Regions from separate parts of the Homo sapiens genome. Here region 2 is linked to region 1. Evidence: promoter capture Hi-C in human tissues and cell types (Jung and others, 2019). All regions are on one chromosome and are shown on one strand. Each heading gives the region's core, a stretch centred on a gene start or on the middle of the fragment in contact. The rest is flanking DNA. Distances are from core to core; before and after follow the strand shown.

Region 1 (2,948 bases), core at 83-2,582:
GGCGACAGAGAATGAATTTCATGAACTGTTTTATTAAACTGATGATACTGTTCACAAAGTTACTTTGATGTTCAGCAGCTCCTAATTGGTTTCTAAGTTGAAGACAGAGTGACTTAAAGATCTACTGTTCAGTGAGTTTCCCACATCCAATCTCCCAACCCTATCTAAAGGTTCTGGTAAAATCAAAAGAGATGATGGTAAGGATGCAAAACTAAAGGAAAATTCAATCTCTTTGAACATGAGTATAGTCAAGTCCATCCTTACAAAAACTCTACAAACAGGAAAGTAATTTTAATGCAATTGATTTAGCAAATGTTTTTCACTGGCAAGATCACATGAAAATGTGATTTCTCACTCAAGGACCGCGGAATTACCATAGCTGGTTAATAAACAAGTACCAAGCATCATCTATTGTTAAGTTCCCGGCTCTGAGACTTTCTAAACGTTACTCGTCTGTGTTTACAACTTAAGTTTGACTGGGTAAAAACAAAGCCAAGTGTGGGTTTGAAATTTTAAAAACAGGCTCCTTCATCGATGGATTTTACTCTAACCGAAGTGTTTACACTTTCCTGTTCATTTCAACTAGTGGACTGCATGTCACTCCTGGGCCCCCGGCAGGTATCAGCTACCGTCACCACCAAGAACTTGGGCTTGGGGGGGAAGCGGAGAGGATGCGACTGCGAGTATCCAAGTGACCAAAACCAAACCCGGGCGCGGAGGCGAAGCCTGTCTGGCCGCAGTTCGGAAAGGGGCAGGGGCCCGGGTTTGGGGAGCCGGGCGCAGCCGCGTCCCTCCAGCCCCCGGCCGCGAGCGAAGCAGGGTGTGCATCTGCCAGGGAGCGTCGCTGGGCGGGGTAGGTCCCAAGGCAGAGGGAGAAAGGCGCGCCTCCCCACGGGTCCCGGCCCCGCTGTGGTGGGGAAAGGGGGACTGCGAGACTCCTCGATACCTGACACAGGGCCAACTCCTCCTTTAGGCTGCTCAGCTCTTCCTCCAGCAGCTGCGTCCGGGTCACCATCGCCTCCTCTACCGAGATGCCCTCTAGCCGTCTGGACCCCATGGGCGCGCTGAGGAGGGGAGCATGAGCCGGAGCTGCCCCCCCAGGCCCTCGCCGGCCCCCTGACCCTTCTTCACCCACCCAGATTTTATCACTTTCGTCCGCGACCACCTCCCGCGCTGCGCCGGCAAAACCCGAGGCCTCGCTGCGCATTGCGTGTACTTCAGCTCCCCGCCCAACACGTGGGGACCTGGGGCCCAGCTGTCGCGCTGGGGGCGAAGGGTGCGGTGAGGGAGGCGAACGCGCCGCCATGGCTGCGGCTGCTAACGGGTCAAGTTCCCTGTTGGAAACTCCACCTCCCTTTCCCCAACCCGGCGAGCCCGGAACGCCGAACCGCGCATGCGCGAGGCTTTTCCCGCCTTGGCCCGCGGTGTCCCGTGTTCTCTGGTCCTGGCCGGCTTCCCGCGGGCAATGCGCCCAGCGCGAGCCTTGGGGTACGCACGCGCCGTGGCCCGAAAGGGTAAGGCCGGTCCGCCGGGCAGGCCATCCCAGCGTCCTGTGCCTGAGTCCTTGGCCAGGATCGCCTGGATTTCCCGCCCACCTAAAGCCCTGCCTGCCACTTACATCCCACCTCTTAAAGCCTTCCTTGACAAGCCCCCAGCCCCAAATGATCCTTAACTGTGAAATCCCTCTCCTTCAAGGCCCCTGCCAACTCGTGTGACACGTTTCATTGACCGCCCTGGAGTGTCAGTTACACGGCTAATCTCCCCAGCCCTGTTGTAAGCTCCTTGAGGATCAAGGAATACGTTTTACACTTAAGTGTTTTCTTCACACCCCTTGGCAAAACTGCTTTAGTACAGCTGACATCCAGCTGACTAATGTCAAGGAGATGTGGAAAGCCTTGTGCTGATCTGGGACTATCAAGCAGGTTTCCAACTTGAATGATGATCCTTTGTACACCCTTTGTCTTTTGTTTTGCAGGAGTCATGATTTCCTTTGAGTTTTTATGTCAGCTTCTTTATGCGTTGGCTGGATATCAGAGGAAGTGTAGCCCACATTGCTGAACAGTTTGGGTCCTTGGAGCAGTTTGAAATCAGTAATTTGGAGCGTGGATGAAGAAACAAGACCTACTTTATCTTTTGTTCTCTTTTTTTTCTTTTTCTTCTGGCTTTCTTTATAAACTTCAAATAGGTAGTAATCGTATCTTTCTTTGCCCTTCAAATACTTTGTTACTATTGATAAGATTAATGAGATGCATATTGAGCTGGCACCAGAACATCCCTGAAAGTTAGAACTGCCCTCTTCTTCAGAAAGGGTTCCAGAATACTTGGGGAAAGCTGAGATGGGGGTTGAGAGCAGAAGTAGAGAGATGACCACTTTACTGTTAACTTCATTTAACCAAAATATCACCATCTCTGCATGAGAATCTAGTCAGGATGCCAAAAGACACCCTCCCAATTAGAATCCTGCCAAGGCAACCAAGATAAGTGGACTTCTTTCAAACTGAAGGTGAATTCCTCACAAAAACTTATTAAAGAGTACATTAGAAAAAGTATGTTTATAAGCCTGTCTTAGAACTAGCTAACCTACTGAACATTTACCATATGCTGAGTCCAGTGCTAAGCACTTTTCATATATGAACTCACTTAATACATATGTCACCTTCAATTAGATTATTATATATCTCCATTTTTACTAGTGAGGAAACAGACTTGCAAGGTTACTGTAACTTCTCTGAAGTGCCATGTCTGGTATCAGAAAAGCTAGGCTTTGAATTCACTGAATTCCACTTAACTCTGAAAACCTGTACTTTGATCGCTACCCTGTCTCCACACCTGTGACTTGAAATACAACATTTGGTCTTGATAGTCTGTGAGATTTCACTAGACTTAAGACTGGGAAGTCTAACCACATAAGTTACGTGTTTGGCCCCAAATCAGTATTAATGCACATT
Region 2 (3,108 bases), core at 264-2,763, 1.2 Mb before region 1:
ACACCGATGGGTCTTGACCCTTTATCCAATTTTCCAGTCTGTGTCTTAATTGGGGCATTTAACCCATTTACATGGAAGGCTAATATTGTTATGTGTGAATTTGACCCTGTCATTATGATGGTAGCTGGTTATTTTGCCTGTTAGTTGATGCAGTTTCTTCATACTATCAACGGTCTTTACAATTTGGTATGTTTTTGCAGTGGCTGGTACTATTTTTTTTCTTTTCATATTTAGAGCTTCCTTCAGGAGCTTTTGTAAAGCAGGCCTGGTGGTGAAAAAATCTCTCAGCATTTGCTTGTCTGTAAAGGATTTTATTTCCCCTTCGCTTATGAAGCTTAGTTTGGCTGGATATGAAATTCTGGGTTGAAAATTCTTTTCTTTACGAATGTTGAATATTGGCCCCCACTCTATTCTGGCTTGTAGGGTTTCTGCAGAGAGATCCACTGTTAGTCTGGTGGGCTTCCCTTTGTGGGTAACCCAACCTTTCTCTCTTCCTGCCCTTAACATTTTTTCCTTCATTTCAACCTTGGTGAATTTGACAATTATGTGTCTTGGGTTTGCTCTTCTTGAGGAGTATCTTTGTGAGGTTTTCTGTATTTCCTGAATTTGAATGTTGGCCTGTCTTGCTAGGTTGGGGAAGTTCTCCTGGATAATATACTGAAGAGTGTTTTCCAACTTGGTTCCATTCTCCCCATCACTTTCAGGTACACCAATCAAACGTAGATTTGGTCTTTTCACATAGTCCCATATTTCTTGGAGGCTTTGTTTGTTCCTTTTCATTCTTTTTTTCTCTAATCTTGTCTTCATGGTCTATTTCATCAAGTTGATCTTCAATCTCTGATATCCTTTCTTCTGCTTCATCAATTAAGCTATTGATACTTGTGTATTCTTCATGAGTTCTCGTGCTGTGTTTTTCAGCTCCATCATTCATTTCTGTTCTTCTCTAAACTGGTTATTCTAGTTAGCAATTTCTCTAACCTTTTTTCAAAGTTCTTAGCTTCCTTGCATTGGGTTAGAATACGCTCCTTTTGCTTGGAGGAGTTTGTTATTATCCACTTTCTGAAGCCTATTTCTGTCAATTCGTCAAACTCATTCTCCATCCAGTTTTGTTCCCTTGCTGGTGAGGAGTTGTGATCCTTTGGAGGAGAAGAAGCATTCTGATTTTTGGAATACTCAGCCTTTTTGTGCTGGGTTTTCCTCATCTTCGTGTATTTATCTTCCTTTGGTCTTTGATGTTGGTGATCTTCGGATGTGGTTTATGTGTGGATGTCTTTTTTGTTGATGTTGACGCTATTCCTTTCTGTTTGTTAGTTTTCCTAACAGTCAGGCCCCTCTGCTGCAGGTCTGCTGGATACTCCATGCCCTGTTTGCCTGGGTATCACCAGTGGAGGCTACAGAACAGTAAAAATTGCTGCCTGTTCCTTCCTCTGGAAGCTTTGTCCCAGAGGGGCACCTGCCAGATGCCAGCTGGAGCTCTCCTGTATGAGGTGTCTATTGAGCCCTGCTGGGAGGTGTCTCTCAGTCAGGAGTCATGGAGGTCAGGGACCCACTTGAGGAGGCAGTCTGTCTCTTAGTAGAGCTTGAGTGCTGTGCTGCGTGATCCACTGCTCTCTTCAAGGCCAACAGGCAGGAACGTTCAAGTCTGCTGAAGCTGCACCCACAACCACCCCATCCCCCAAGTGCTGTGTCCCAAGGAGATGGGAGTTTGCTCTATAAGCCCCTGACTGCGGCTGCTGCATTTCTTTCAGAGATGCCTTTACCAGAGAGGAGGAATCTAGACAGGTAGTCTGGCTACAGTGGCTTTGCTGAGCTGCAGTGGGCTCTGCCCAGTCTGAACTTCCCTGCGGCTTTGTTTACACTGTGAGGGGAAAACCGCCTACTCAAGCCTCAGTAATGGCGGATGCCCCTCCCCCCACCAAGCTTGAGCATCCCAGATAGACTTCAGACTGCTGTGCTGGCAGCGAGAATTTCAAGCCAGTGGATCTTAGCTTGCTGGGCTCTGTGGGGGTCGGATCCCCTGAGCTAGACCACTTAGCTGCCTGGCTTCAGCCCCCTTTCTAGGAGAGTGAACGATTCTGTCTCACTGGTCTTCCAGGTGCCACTGGGGAATGAAAAAAATCTCCTGCAGCTAGCTTGGTGGCTGCTCAAACAGCCGCCCAGTTTTGTGCTTGAAACCCAGGACCCTGGTGGCGTAGGCAGCCAAGGGAATCTCCTGGTCTGTAGGTTGTGAAGACCATGGGAAAAGCATAGTATCTGGGCCAGAGTGCAGTGTTGCTCATGGCACAGTCCCTCACGGCTTCCCTTGTCTAGGAGAGGGAGTTCCTGACCACTTGTACTTTCCCGGTGAGGCAATGCCCCACCCTGCTTCAGCTCCCCATCCATGGGCTGCACCCACTGTCTAACCAGGCCCAATGAGATGCACCTGGTACCTCAGCTGGAAATGCAGAAATCACCTGCCTTCTGTGTAGATCACGCTGGGAGCTGCAGATCGGAGCTGTTCCTATTCAGCCATCTTGCCCAGGAACGTACACTGTTTAAGTACATATTTTCTTAGAATAAAACAGAAACATTTTTCTATTTCTTATAAAAATAGTTTATAGTAAAAACTTTCCTAATTTAGACCCATGAGAAAGTCATTTTGAATTAATGCAAATATGAGTTATGGAATATGCCTCAACTCCATACAAGTAACAAAGATACTATTTTTTTCAGAATCTTACTATTCATTAGAGAGGAAGTTTTATAATGAACATACTAAAGCATAGTCCTAAAAAAAAAAAAAGTTTAGGCCCTTGTGCTACCAAACTTGTCTAGATCAGCAATACCAAATGTGTTTGGATGTAGTTTATTTCCTCAGTGTAGGTAAATAACACGCTTATATATGTTTTTAAGTGTGAGTTTTTGAGAAAATCCTTTGCTCCACTAATTATTGATTCCAAATTTTAATTTGGTTTTGCAAAATAGCAAAACCAGGTTTTGCTATTTTAATATCACATGATAACACTAGGCACAGTACAGTGGAATTAAAATAAACATTTCCGACACCCAGGAGCTCACAAGGTTTTCTTTTATAAAAAGTATTTTTTTTTTCAAAACTCTATTCCTTGA

The links. Contacts are between HindIII fragments. The study calls those that stand out against the background at their distance.
Region 2: a contact is called between a fragment that was not itself captured here and the fragment with the promoter of CNTLN in region 1, in 1 of the 25 tissues and cell types used here (lymphoblastoid cells).

Annotation. Positions count from the first base shown.
Region 1 is chr9:17,133,424-17,136,371 of GRCh38, reverse strand. It overlaps CNTLN (centlein), which reads right to left and starts at 1,332. Exons shown (of 26, transcript NM_017738.4): 1 at 947-1,332. The coding sequence starts at 1,306. RefSeq lists an enhancer at 488-1,051. The HindIII fragment of the contact is 19,584 bases long and covers 1-2,948 here.
Region 2 is chr9:18,304,323-18,307,430 of GRCh38, reverse strand. It overlaps a transcript of ADAMTSL1 not described here. Among named protein-coding and RNA genes, the nearest start is that of ADAMTSL1, 170 kb to the left of the region's middle. The HindIII fragment of the contact is 4,237 bases long and covers 1-3,108 here.